2 separate regions of the Homo sapiens genome follow, and region 1 is linked to region 2. The links are contacts of gene promoters, found by promoter capture Hi-C in human tissues and cell types (Jung and others, 2019). All regions are on one chromosome and are shown on one strand. Each heading gives the region's core, a stretch centred on a gene start or on the middle of the fragment in contact. The rest is flanking DNA. Distances are from core to core; before and after follow the strand shown. Region 1 holds the start of SNCG (synuclein gamma). Region 2 holds the start of OPN4 (opsin 4).

Region 1 (6,159 bases), core at 1,349-3,848, 300 kb after region 2:
GCAGCTCCCTCCTCCCTCCCGTCCACCGGGTCCTCTCATCCTCCCTTTCATCAAAAGGCGGAAGGTGGCCTGAGACTAAGGCGTGGAGCTTCCTTGGTCCTGAAATCAGAGCGGAGTGGCTGGATCCAGCCCGCCCCTCCCCCGCCCCCTGCTCCCCTTGCCGCCCCACCACCGAGAATCACCTGCACCTCCCAGCCCTGAGCAGAGTTGGGGGCAGGCGGGAATGAGGTTTCTCCATGGCCAACTGCTCAGCCACTGTTCCCCACGCCACTGCCACCAGACCCTCACTAAGGGGCCTCTTGCCCCTCCCTGGTCAAATCTGTTTTCAGGAAAGCACCCAACAAACCTGCAACTCAGAAGCCAAATGAGACCTATCCCAGGCAGGTCCGCTCTGCGATGGTGGCTCTCATACACCGCACAGAAGTGTAAGTTGGCCCCCCCCTCACTCCCTAAATCCATGTAGATGCCCTTAGCCAAACAGGTCTGGTGTGTGGGGGCAGGAGGGTGGAGGTAGGAGCATCTGGGGGCTGGGGCTGGCTCCAAGTGCTGCAGAGAGTTCACTATGAGCTCTGAAGTCAAACTCAGATCCTGCTCCTTAGCTGTGTGGCCTTGGGCAAGCCCCTCAGCCTCTCTGAGCCTCAGGCTCCTCCTCTGTAAGTGGGGCTGTTGGAGGGATGAACTGAGATACACGTGGCAAGGTGCCTGGCCCTGAGACTGGGGGCCCCGTAAACAGCACCTGCTGCTCTGACTGAGGGGCAGTTGGAGATGAGGGGGGACTTACAGGCCCAACACCTCATCAGCAGGATGGGCCCTGGCTCTGTACACATAGAATGTTGGAAAGCTATGTTCTGGGTCCAGTTGCAAGACCATCCTGCCCACTTGCTGGGTCGCTGAGGCAGAGCGCCCTGGACTGTGCTCTGGAGAGCAGGGGGCCGTCTCTGCTCACTGCTGGGCAGTCAGAGTCAGGTCCCCAGGGAACTCAGATCAAAATCTCAGGGCAGCCTTGCTGGGTCTCAGCTTTCAGAATTGATTTCTTTGGAAGAACAGGAGGCATAGCCAGGCCAGCTGGCAATGGCTTCAGCCACAGTCCCCCAGTGCCCCATGCTGGGTGATTGATGGTAGGAGCTGTGCCTCCCTGCCAGCCCCCCAAGCCCCATTCCCTGCCATGGCTCCGACAGGGAACTCCCTGCAATTCTTAGGTGGATCCTGAAACACCCAGTCCAGACTACTTTTTCAGCCTCACAGATGGCCCAGAGATAGATACTATTAGCCCATTTCACAGATGGGACCCCAGTGAGGTCTAGAGAGGCTCTGCTCTAGCTGAGCTGGGACTCAGATCCTACTCCATGACCTCTGCCAAGGTCCAGGCCCTCTTACCGTCCTACGGGGTCCTTGCCGGTGTCCTCAGCCTCTGCCTTCCAGACCCCAGGTGTCCTGGAGCTCTGCAGATCAGAGAGGCTAGTACTGGAAGCCTGGGCCCATGCCCCCAGCAGCCCCCAGCCCAGGGGGCCCCCAAGGCTGAACAGCAAGCTCAGGATCATCTTGGTGGTGGGGCAGGCTCAGCTCACACTCAGCCTTGGCAAGTAGCTCCAGAAACTGCTAGTGACGTTGTCTTCAAGTTAAATCTCAGGAGGAAAAGAAAATACGAGGACAACAAAGAGAGGAAGTGGCCTGGGCCGGCCTACCCGGTGGGTCTTGTCCTGCCCCCCAACTACCCTGGCTGGCCCCACAGGGGCCGCCAACCACACAAGCCAGTTCCTGTCCCTGAGGACTTGGCTCAGGGACTCTGGGAATGTGGTAGACATGGGGTGGCCCCACCAAATGCATCCTTATGGGAACCTGCTCCCTGGGAGCCATGAAAAGAGCGTGGACTTCGAGGTGGGGCCACAGGAAGTGGTCAGGTCCATCTCAGGGGACCTGCTGCCCATCCACACTGCTGGCCAGGAAATGGGGGGCAATTCATGCCTCCTCAGCACCTTCAGCACTGGGCGGCTCAAAGAAGGGAAGGGACTATTCTGGGGTCACACAGCATGCAGCCAGAGGCCAAGGCATGAGGAAGTCCTTCATTTCCCCACCCCCACCCACCTCAGATCCTCCAACCGGTTTCATGGCAGCCCAGGGTCCAGCGGCATCCAGGATGCTGGTGGGTAGCTGCACAGCCCAGGCCGCGGGAGGTTGGCTGCTCTCACCTAACAGGCCTATGTGGCCCTGACCCCTACCTAGGAAGCTGGGGACAATGGCCAAGGCGCCTCCCCTCTCTGTGCCTGTCTGTCCAGGTGCAGCATAGACACAGCACCCCTGGGGCCAAGAGCACCCAGCCAGGGCTGCCCCCATGGGTGGGCAGGGCAGTAAATGAATGAGGGACAGGTTGGGAGGTGGCCAGCCCCCTCCAGCCCATGGAGGGCACGGGGCAGGAGAGCTGGGCTGAGCCAGCAGGAGCCCAGGGAGCCTGGTCTCTGCCTTCCTATCCTGGAGGAAGGTGAGGCTGAACCTCCTTCCCTCCCTCCCTCCCTCCCCGCCCCCACTGCACGCAGGGCTGGCTGGGCTCCAGCTGGCCTCCGCATCAATATTTCATCGGCGTCAATAGGAGGCATCGGGGACAGCCGCTGCGGCAGCACTCGAGCCAGCTCAAGCCCGCAGCTCGCAGGGAGATCCAGCTCCGTCCTGCCTGCAGCAGCACAACCCTGCACACCCACCATGGATGTCTTCAAGAAGGGCTTCTCCATCGCCAAGGAGGGCGTGGTGGGTGCGGTGGAAAAGACCAAGCAGGGGGTGACGGAAGCAGCTGAGAAGACCAAGGAGGGGGTCATGTATGTGGGTAAGTGGGGCATGGCAGGGTGGGACAGTGTGGTGGCCAAAGGGTGAGTGCCCAGTTACCTTCGCCAGACCTTACTCCCCAGCCCCAGGGAGGCATTTTGGGAGGGGGCGAGGCCCTGGCTATCAAGGTGGGGTCTCCAGACCCTGGAGCACCCACAATGCCCTGTGCACACCTATGTGTGTTTGTCTTTGGCCTCCTCGGGGCCTCTGGGTGTCAGAGACCGCAGACAGGGCTGGCTACCTGTCTGTGCACGCACACACACATTCCCAAGCATACCAGCCTCCCCTGAGCCTGGAGCCCCTGAAGCCATGAGCAGCCTGTGCTCAGGTGGCCCCCACCCTCTCCACACGGGAGCGGCTACAGCCAGGTCACGGATCCCCTCCCTCCCCAGAGAGAAGGGGCAGGCTGGGGGATGAAACCTAGGCTCAGTGTTCCCTCCCCCGCATCCTCTCCTGGCACTCTCCAGAGGAGGAAGGGGAGGTCAAGCCAATGACTCAGCTCTGGCCCATCCTGTCCTGTTGCTGCTTCTGAGGCCCGGCCACACCCGGGCAGGGGCTGGACCCTGGGTCTAGCCAGTGTCCCTACCTCAGGCCTGCTCTCTCTTGTCCCCCACATTCTGTCCTGTCCCCTTCCCATCCATCCACTTCTTCCAGACACAGCAGGAAGAGGCCCTCTGAAGGGGCCGCCGGCCCCCAGACACCATCCTTACCCCCCCACCGACCCCACAGTTTGTCCAGCTGTTCTGTTGTGTTTGTCCTGACCGCCCCCAACACCTCGAGGGAGGTCTGGGCTGACAGCTCCATTTCCTCCCCAGGAGCCAAGACCAAGGAGAATGTTGTACAGAGCGTGACCTCAGGTGAGAAGCCCCAGGGCCAGGGGACACATGGGGGATAGGACCCCTGGGGCTCCTGCATCCTAGTGCTGGGGCTCAAACCTAGAGTCCTGCCTTACCCCCAACTGGGGTCCCAAGCCCTACAGACCCCTGCAGACCATGAGGCTAAACTAGGGTGGGCGTCTCCTTACCCCCACCAGCATCAGAGGTGCCCTGGAGTCAGAGGGAGCAGGGGAGGGTCCCAGCAGGGCCAGGGCTCTGAGCTCCTGGGAAGGGGCTGCGAGCCTGACTCCAGCAGGCCTGCCTTGGGGCTGGGGCTGGGGTGGAGGCCAGCCAGTGTCCTCCCATAGTGGCCGAGAAGACCAAGGAGCAGGCCAACGCCGTGAGCGAGGCTGTGGTGAGCAGCGTCAACACTGTGGCCACCAAGACCGTGGAGGAGGCGGAGAACATCGCGGTCACCTCCGGGGTGGTGCGCAAGGTGAGCCCCGGCCCTCAGACCTGCCCAGTCCTCTCCTGGGCCCAGAAAGGCTGCTGGGCGGAGGCGGCATCACTCCACTCCACACCCCAGGAAACAACACGGGGGGCTGCGGCTGGCTTCAGTTTCAGTACCCACTGAGCGCCGGCATGGGGTGGGGTCCATGCTTGCTGTTCGACCTGCATTCGGGTCTGGAATCACCACAACCACCCCTTCGGGGGACTTGGGAGCCCATCTCATAGACAAGGAAAGTGAGGCTCAAAACCACATCTTCCGGACGGCTCTCAGCACTTAGGAGACACCCCATTTTATAAGTGAAAACAGGATCCCACACGGTGACAGGCAGCCTCCCGGGCAGTGGTCACCAGGCCGGGGGCTGAGTAGCACCAGCCCCGCCCCCAGGGCCTAGCCTCCCTCCCTGGGCTGGGCGGGGCAGCTGCCTCCTGCTGGGAGCCTCAGGGAAGTAGCGTCCCCTAGTGGTAAGAAAGCAGTGCTGCTTCTGACCCTACCCTCTGCAGCTGCCTTTGTGTGTGTGTGCACGTGTGTTGAGTGAGCATGTGGGTGCATTTGTGAGAATGTGTGGGTGTACATGCGTGTGAATGTACACATGCGTGTGCGGCCCAATAGCAGACAGCACAGGAGCAGTGGGGCGCACCCCAGGGACGGGTGTTGGCTGGGTGAGCTGTCCCAGCACCTGTGACACAGCAAGCTCTGCTTTACGCATTGTACGCTTATTAGTTCATTTAATAGACACAAAATCCATGAGACGGTGTGGAAACTAAGGCCCAGAGAGATTAATGTGCCCAAGGTCCCATGGCTAGTTCATGTGAGCTTGGAATTCCCCTGAGCAGCCTGTACTCTGAGAGACCCTGTGGCAGTGTAAGTGGTGGCCTGGGCTAGGATTCCTACCTGGGGGTGGGGCGGGGGAGCAGTGTCCAGCTCTCCTACCTGCTCCAGGCCTCCTAGGTGGTGGAGTCTGAGGCTCTGAGCACTGAGAATCCCTGCGTTAGGAGTGGGTGGGTGGAAGGGTGGGGGCTGCCCTACTCCTCTTGGCTCTGGGGCGATGCCCAGGTGTCTGCTTCCAGGGCCAGCACAGGGTCTCCATGTCCTTGGAGCTGGCAGCCGCTCCCTCTCCTAGTTCCCCTTTCTCGTCGTATGACCTTGAGAAGCAAAGGAACCTCTCTGGGCCTCCGTGTTCTCATCTGCAAGATGGGGGTGAGAGTGTCGGCCTCCCTGGGCTGTGTGATGAGGCAGGGCCATGACCTCCATGAAGCAATTCTCCTGGTCTATGTGAGCACCCAGCAGAGGAAGGTGACCATCATCATCATCATCATCATGTGTCCCAGGCAGAACACATAGAGCCCCAGGGGGCTCCTCCCTCCTCACCCCCAGCAAAAGAGGCCCTGGGGTGAGGGTGCCCGGGCATTCCTTGTGAATCCCGGAGCAGGGCTAGTGAGCCCTTGGAGCCACCTCGAGGGAGACTCATTTCCTGGTGACACCCCAAAACCAGTCACGACTCATCTCCCAGTGAACTGTGAAAGGCCTCAGCAGGGACTATCTGACCACTCATACCCCTGGCCTCATCATCAGCCTTAGGGCAGCAGGACTCAGCAGGTGGCCACCTGCCCTGCCCCTGGATAGCCTGGCCGACTCCCGCCAGCACAGCACTGCCCTTTTATGCCCCACTCCGCCAAGGGGCAGGATGGCCCTGGGGCAACACAGAGGTGACAGTATCCCCGCCTCCCCCCCGTCCCCCGCCAGAGGCAGGTGCTGAGGCCAGAGTGCAGGGCAATCACCAGTGTGGTCCTACACACCCAGCTGTCATGATATCTCACGCAAGTGTCTGGCCGGCATGGAGTGCAGGAGATAGAAGATGGGAAGTGAGAGAGGACTGTGTAACCTCTGCTGGCCCTGACCAGCCTGAGCCCAGAGCCTGTCCAGGAGGCAAAGAGAGGGAGCCATGCTCCTGTGGACTGAAGTGGGCCTGAAGCAAGCCTGATCTGATGCCAACACACCCCACCACTTTGAGCTCGA
Region 2 (6,361 bases), core at 1,340-3,839:
GGAGAAGTGCTGAGGGAAGGTGAGCACAGCCAGGCACCCAGGAAGACAGGAGCCACCTGGTCGGAGGGGAGTGATGGAAGGTCAGGGTTCCCACCCATCAGACCACAGCTTCCAGCCAGGACAGCTTGGGCAGCAGTAGTCATAGGAGACATCTGGAGGCTGAGGCTTCCCACGCGGCCCTCCTGGCTCCATTGGATGGCAGGCTCCGGGCAGACGAGCTGCCAGGTGGGTGTGGGATGCAAAGGTTTGGAGCAAGAGCGCCATGGGGAGCCTCCCCAGTGGGACAGAAGCACAGGAGTGAGGGGGTTGGGCCCTGAGGAGATCTCAGTGTCACCCGCAACGGCTGCAGTGCACGGCCCATGGAGAAAGGACATTGTCAGGTGAGACGTGGGCTTCCAAAGGCCCCAGGCTGGGGGTTCCGAGTCCTCTGATCTTTCCCTGAGGTGCTCCTTTGAGGCCTGTGGCACCCTGGGTATGTGGATTCCCGCCTCATGTGTCCACCTGACAAGCACTTCTCCCCTGGACTCCTGTGCCTGCTCCATCACCTGCACCCTCTCTTAATTAGCAGGTTGGAGAGTGGGGTCCACATTGAATGGGACGTTGTGTTGACTCAGAATTGCTCCCAGCTGTGAGGAATTGTTAAACCCCTACATTAAAACGCAAGCAGCTGGCATTGAGCCTAGGGACAGAAAGAAAAGCCGGCCCCTCAGCCTCACCCTGCCCCCAGGGTGGCCTCTGTGAGCCAAAGCCCTGAAGTGGAAGAGCCTCAGGAGGAAGGCAGTCTGAGCCATGGGCTGGCAGCTGCAGGAAGTACAGCTCCCGCTCCCAGTGAGGCTGCTCCCACTTCTCCTGCTCAAACCTGGGGCTCCAGGAGAACTGTTTGTAAAGACTGGGGGAACTTCTGGAAGAGGAGTGATATCTCTGTCCACTCCAGGGCTCCAACACTCCCAGCACTGTGCCAGGACATGGCCCCCACTTAGGATGACCGCTGCCCGGTCGGGCTCCCCTAAACGCAGCCTCTGTGGCAGGCCTAGCCCGAGCAGCCCTCCCTGGAAGCCGTGTGTTCAGCTTCCCTTCTCTCCAGCTCCTGCTGCCTCCTCTAAGACAGGGCAAGGGGCAGGCCCGGGGTCCCCTCCACTTCTGACATCCAGTCAACTTGGATCAGGCCTGCAGGCCTGGGTGAGTTCCTGGGACTCTCCCAATAAGGTTTTAAAAAATCTTTATACTTTAAAAATTTCTGCCGGGCCCAGTGGCTCACGCCTGTAATCCTGGCACTTTGGGAAGCCGAGGTGGGTGGATCACCTGAGGTCAGGAGTTCGAGACTAGCCTGGCCAACATGGTGAACTCCTGCCTCTGCTAAATATACAAAAATTAGCCAGGTGTGGTGGCGAGTGCCTGTAATCCCAGCTACTCGGGAGGCTGAGGCAGGAGAATTGCTTGGACCTGGGAGGCGGAAGTTGCAGTGAGCTGAGATTGCACCATTGCACTCCAGGCTGGGTGACAGAGCAAGACTGTCTCAAAAAAAATAAAAATAAAAAAATAAAACTTTCTTATCAAAAAACAAGCAAAAGCCGCCTCGTGATCTGATCTCACCCTACTGCTACATCCTCCTTGTGTCTCCATCTGTGAAAGGGTGACCAGCCTTGGTTCTATGCAGGGTGACTGTGAAAATGCCATGGCTCATGGGGGCCAAACATGGTGGTAGGGCCCACTGTGACAAGGGTGAGGCTGGGCTGCACAGGCTCAGCTGCCCACAAACAGCTCTGGGGGCTCTTGGGATGGCTGAGGCTGCTCTTGATGAGCTCAGGGAAGAAACACAACAGAGACTGGTCAAAGGAGAGGACACAGCCTTCTGCCCAATGTCCAAGAGCCCGAGCCCAGGAATCTCCCTTGAAACACACACTCTCACACACACTCTCACACACACACATGCTCTCACTCACTCACACTCACACACACTCACATGCACACACACTCACACATTGACACCACTGTCAGCTCAGAAATCTCCCTTGAAACACACACACTCACACACATACACATTCACACCACCATCATCCCAGAAATCTCCCTTGAAACACATACACACTCACACACACACACACTCACACACATTCCCAACACCATCCCAGAAATCTTCCTTGAAACACACACACTCACGAACCCTCACACACACACACACACACACGCACACATTCATGACACCATCCCAGAAATCTCCCTTGAAACACATACACACTCACATACACATTTACGCCATCATCCCAGAAGTCTCCTTTGAAACACACACTTTCACACACTCACACACACACACTCACACACACTCACATTCACACCACCATCATCCAGAAATCTCCCTTGAAACACACACACTCACACACACATTCATGCCACCATCATTCCAGAAGTCTCCCTTGAAACACACACACACACACACACACACTCACACATACACATTCACGCCACCATCATCAGACCTTCGTAGATAGACACCCAGAGACCTTGGTCTGAGTGAGCTGGCGGCATGGAGCGACTGAGCATGTGCAGCTCCCACATCGCTATATAAAGATGGGGATGAACTCTGTGGCTGTGAGTCACCATAACTGCGACACTCACTCATTTGCGCTTCACCAGACACAGAGCAACCGCCAGCCCCAAGAGCAGCTCCAGGCTGGATCTGCGCCGGACACAGGAGAAAGCAGCGGGTAGGCTAAGCAGGGGTGCTGAGGATGGAGGAAAGTTGGGAGGCTGAGCACAGCTGAAGTCCTGAGCTCCCTGTGCCCTTGACTTCTCTGTGGGCTCGAGCAAGGACCATCCCAACTCAGGATGAACCCTCCTTCGGGGCCAAGAGTCCCGCCCAGCCCAACCCAAGAGCCCAGCTGCATGGCCACCCCAGCACCACCCAGCTGGTGGGACAGCTCCCAGAGCAGCATCTCCAGCCTGGGCCGGCTTCCATCCATCAGTCCCACAGTAAGCCTGGGCGAGCATGTGCATGCACAGAGCCTTCCCTGACCCCTTCCTGGTCCCCTCCTGGCCACACACAGGGGCTTTGACAGGGAGATAGAAAAGGTCTGAACTCTGCTGTGGGGCCTTGAGCCATTACTGGACCTCTCTGAGCCCGCCCCTGATAAACAGGCTGATAGAGGAGGGTGCAGGCAATGTCCTTCCTCATGGAGAGCATTCAAGGAACAGAAATGCCAGCCCTGAGGACAAGGGGCTGGAATGGCCAGACCTGTCCTTGGCTGCACTCATTCCTTTCAGAGGTTGCTCGGATGCCCCATGGAGCCCTCCAGGGAGGAGGGCACACCCTGGGCCTCTGGATCTGCCAAGCCCACAGTGAAGCCTTGGGTGCCTTCTGCCACCTCCATCATCCTAGCCCAGGCCCAGGGCCATATTCCATCAACACCACTGCTACCTGGGGAAGGCCGAGGGCACCCTCAGGACCTGGGGATGCTGGCCCAGGTGCTGGACAGGATGGGAAGGCTCCGGTAGCTATAGGGGCCACTGCGGCAGGACAGAGACCAAGCCACCCTCTCTTCCCCAGAAAGGGGTTAGGGTGGGAGGAGTCTTTAAATCCCTTTGTCCTGACCTGATATGGTCATGACCTCCCTTCAGTGACCCTGGGAGGCCTAAGCTTTCTTTCTAAAGGGAATTCCCTTCATTTTCATGCCAGGCATCAAGGTTAGCTGTACCCAGCTATGCTATTGGGCAATGCAGCTTCTCCTCTAAGGCTCAGTAGGGGACGGGACTCTTGAGAGGGGCTCCACCCGACTCACCACCCCAGCGTCTAGAGGCCTCAAAAACTGTCTTGGGCCCTTGGGCTGGAGTCCATACTGCAGGCAGGGATGCACCCAGGAGTTGGCTCTGTCTTCTCCCTAAGGAAAGATAGGGTGACCAGGGCCATGTCCCTGCTTGCCAGTCACATGTCTGTCTGTCCTACCAGCCTCCAGCAGGTGATCTGAGCCCACTCCTAGAAGGCCCCTGTGCCATGTTCTAGGAGCTTGGGCTGGACTTTAGAAAGGACCTGCACTTCCCTTCTGCTTTTGGCCACTTGTGAGCTGTGTGTGCAACTGGCTTTGCCACTCTGAGCCTCAGTTTTCCCACCTGCCCTGTTGAGAATCCTAACTCTTCCTTCTCAGGACTATTTGAAGGTGACAAGCGATAACATGATTCCCTCGTTTCTCTGTCTCTCCGCAGGCACCTGGGACTTGGGCTGCTGCCTGGGTCCCCCTCCCCACGGTTGATGTTCCAGACCATGCCCACTATACCCTGGGCACAGTGATCTTGCTGGTGGGACTCACGGGGATGCTGGGCAACCTGACGGTCATCTATACCTTCTGCAGGTGCCTGGTTGGTGGTGCTGGGCCCAGGGCACTGAGGGTGGCAGCCATGCAGACAGGGAAGAAAATGCAGGCAGGAATGTTGACTCTAGCTCTGGCCAGGGCACTGTTGAGGCTAGGCAAGGAGGGCAGGGCCATGCCTTCGATGATCTCAGGCCCAGACCTTCCTGAAGGTCACGGAAAGGGCCAAAAATGGTCCAGGGAGACTTGACTGACTGGCACTAATTGAGACCCAGGTGCATCCTCTGTGGAGGGTGTGTGTGCCCAGAGTATGTGGGTCTCTGACCATTCTGCCCTGCTCTCAGCGCACCTCTCCGTCACCTGCCCCAGAGAGCATCCTCCCCCTGCGTTGAAGAGCAGCTCTAGGCCAGGCGTGGTGGCTCCCGCCTGTAATCCCAGCACTTTGGGAGGCCAAGGCGAGCAGATCACCTGAGATCAGGGTTCGAGACCAGCCTGGCCAATGTGGTGAAACCCCCGTCTCTACTAAAAATACAAAAATTAGCCAGGTGTGGTGGTGTGTGCCTATAATCCAAGCTGCTTGGGAGGCTGAGGCAGGAAAATCGCCTAAACCTGGGAGGCGGAGTTTGCAGTGAACCGAGATCATGCCACTGCACTCTAGCCTGGGCAACAGAACAAGACTCCATCTCAAAAAAAAAAAAAAAAAAAAAAGAGCAGCCCTGGGGACCAGCATCCTCAAGTCCCTCAAACACCCCTGACACCCACCCCCAGTGTCCCTCTCCATCTGCCCCCCTGCCTGGCTCAGTGGCTGAGACAGGCAGGTGGAGAAGGGAACCCAGGCTGCAGGGCCACACAGCCCCCTGGCTCTCCCACCTGCCAGCTGAAGGACTGGGCACGTCATTTCTCCTCCTTGAGCTCACTTTTCTTTCCGCAAAACAGAGCTGTGCTTCGTGGAGTCACTGTGATGATGCAGTAAGTTCACGGATGTGCGTTGCCCCACAGATGAGCCACTTACTGAGTGCTGTGCACCGGAGCAAGTCACTTCATGAGTGGGAGCATCTTGTCTGGAAAATGGGGACAATGACGCCTCCCTCAGGGTAGATGCAAAGATGGATGATGACAGGAGCCGAGGCTGGTGAAAGTGCCTGGCCCGGCCGTGGTGCACAGCCATCAGCTCCTCTGCCCTTGGCCATCCCCAAGCATGAGGATTACAGAGACAGTGTGCAGGGCAGGGTCCAGGCAGGACGTGACACTGGAGGGAGAGTGGGAGGGGGACCCGCGGAGGAGGGAAGCGTGAGAAGCCATGGGAAAGCACAGTCAGGGCACGCAGGAGGAGGAACCTAGGGAGAAACCTCTAGGGAGACCTTGGCCTAGAGGGACTCAAGGAAACCAGTGAATTGGTCAAGGAAATGGTGTGAGTCGTGCAGAGGAATTTAGAGGGCAAGAAGAGGAAACGGACATGACCCAAGAACCGGCCTGCGCTGGGCCACGCCTCAGGTTTTGGAGAGAAACTGCCCCCTGCTTCTCTCTGAGGGAGCCGTCTTGGGGTCCTCACTCAGCAGACACTGCTGGGTTCAACAGCTGCTTGGCTGGTCCCTGCCCGACAGTGGGATAGCTCTGTGGCCCGGCAGCTCGTGCCTGTTTGCTTGCCCATGTGTGTGTGCATGTGTAAGTGTGTGGCACGTGTGTGCACATGCATACCTGAGGGGTGCGGGAAGCTCTCCATAGCTCTGGAGGTGTCAGGAAGCGCCTCCTAACAGCTTCTGATCCTCCCAGGAGCAGAAGCCTCCGGACACCTGCCAACATGTTCATTATCAACCTCGCGGTCAGCGACTTCCTCATGTCCTTCACCCAGGCCCCTGTCTTCTTCACCAGTAGCCTCTATAAGCAGTGGCTCTTTGGGGAGACAGGTAGATGCTGGGGCTCCCTTTTGCTGGAGGGAGGAGGAGGGTTTTGACCTGGGGATGCCCTCAATGGAGGGTGGCCCAAAGGAGGTGATTTGCTGCTTCTGGGCAGAGAGTGGGTAGCTGCCCTCAGTCCTGTGAGTAAGCAAGAAGGGAAGA

What was found. Contacts are between HindIII fragments. The study calls those that stand out against the background at their distance.
Region 1: the fragment with the promoter of SNCG here is called in contact with the fragment with the promoter of OPN4 in region 2 in 1 of the 25 tissues and cell types used here (adrenal gland).

Annotation. Positions count from the first base shown.
Region 1 is chr10:86,956,001-86,962,159 of GRCh38, forward strand. It overlaps SNCG (synuclein gamma), which reads left to right and starts at 2,599. Exons shown (of 5, transcript NM_003087.3): 1 at 2,599-2,818; 2 at 3,633-3,674; 3 at 4,001-4,128. The coding sequence starts at 2,698. It overlaps MMRN2 (multimerin 2), which reads right to left and starts at 1,615. Exons shown (of 7, transcript NM_024756.3): 1 at 1,378-1,615. The coding sequence starts at 1,541. RefSeq lists enhancers at 2,889-3,488, 4,689-5,289, 5,890-6,159. The HindIII fragment of the contact is 6,431 bases long and covers 1-5,537 here.
Region 2 is chr10:86,651,958-86,658,318 of GRCh38, forward strand. It overlaps OPN4 (opsin 4), which reads left to right and starts at 2,590. Exons shown (of 10, transcript NM_033282.4): 1 at 2,590-2,970; 2 at 4,198-4,343; 3 at 6,075-6,208. The coding sequence starts at 2,827. It overlaps LOC105378409 (a long non-coding RNA gene), which reads right to left. Exons shown (of 3, transcript XR_001747526.2): 3 at 6,197-6,337. RefSeq lists an enhancer at 1-407. The HindIII fragment of the contact is 7,074 bases long and covers 1-5,984 here.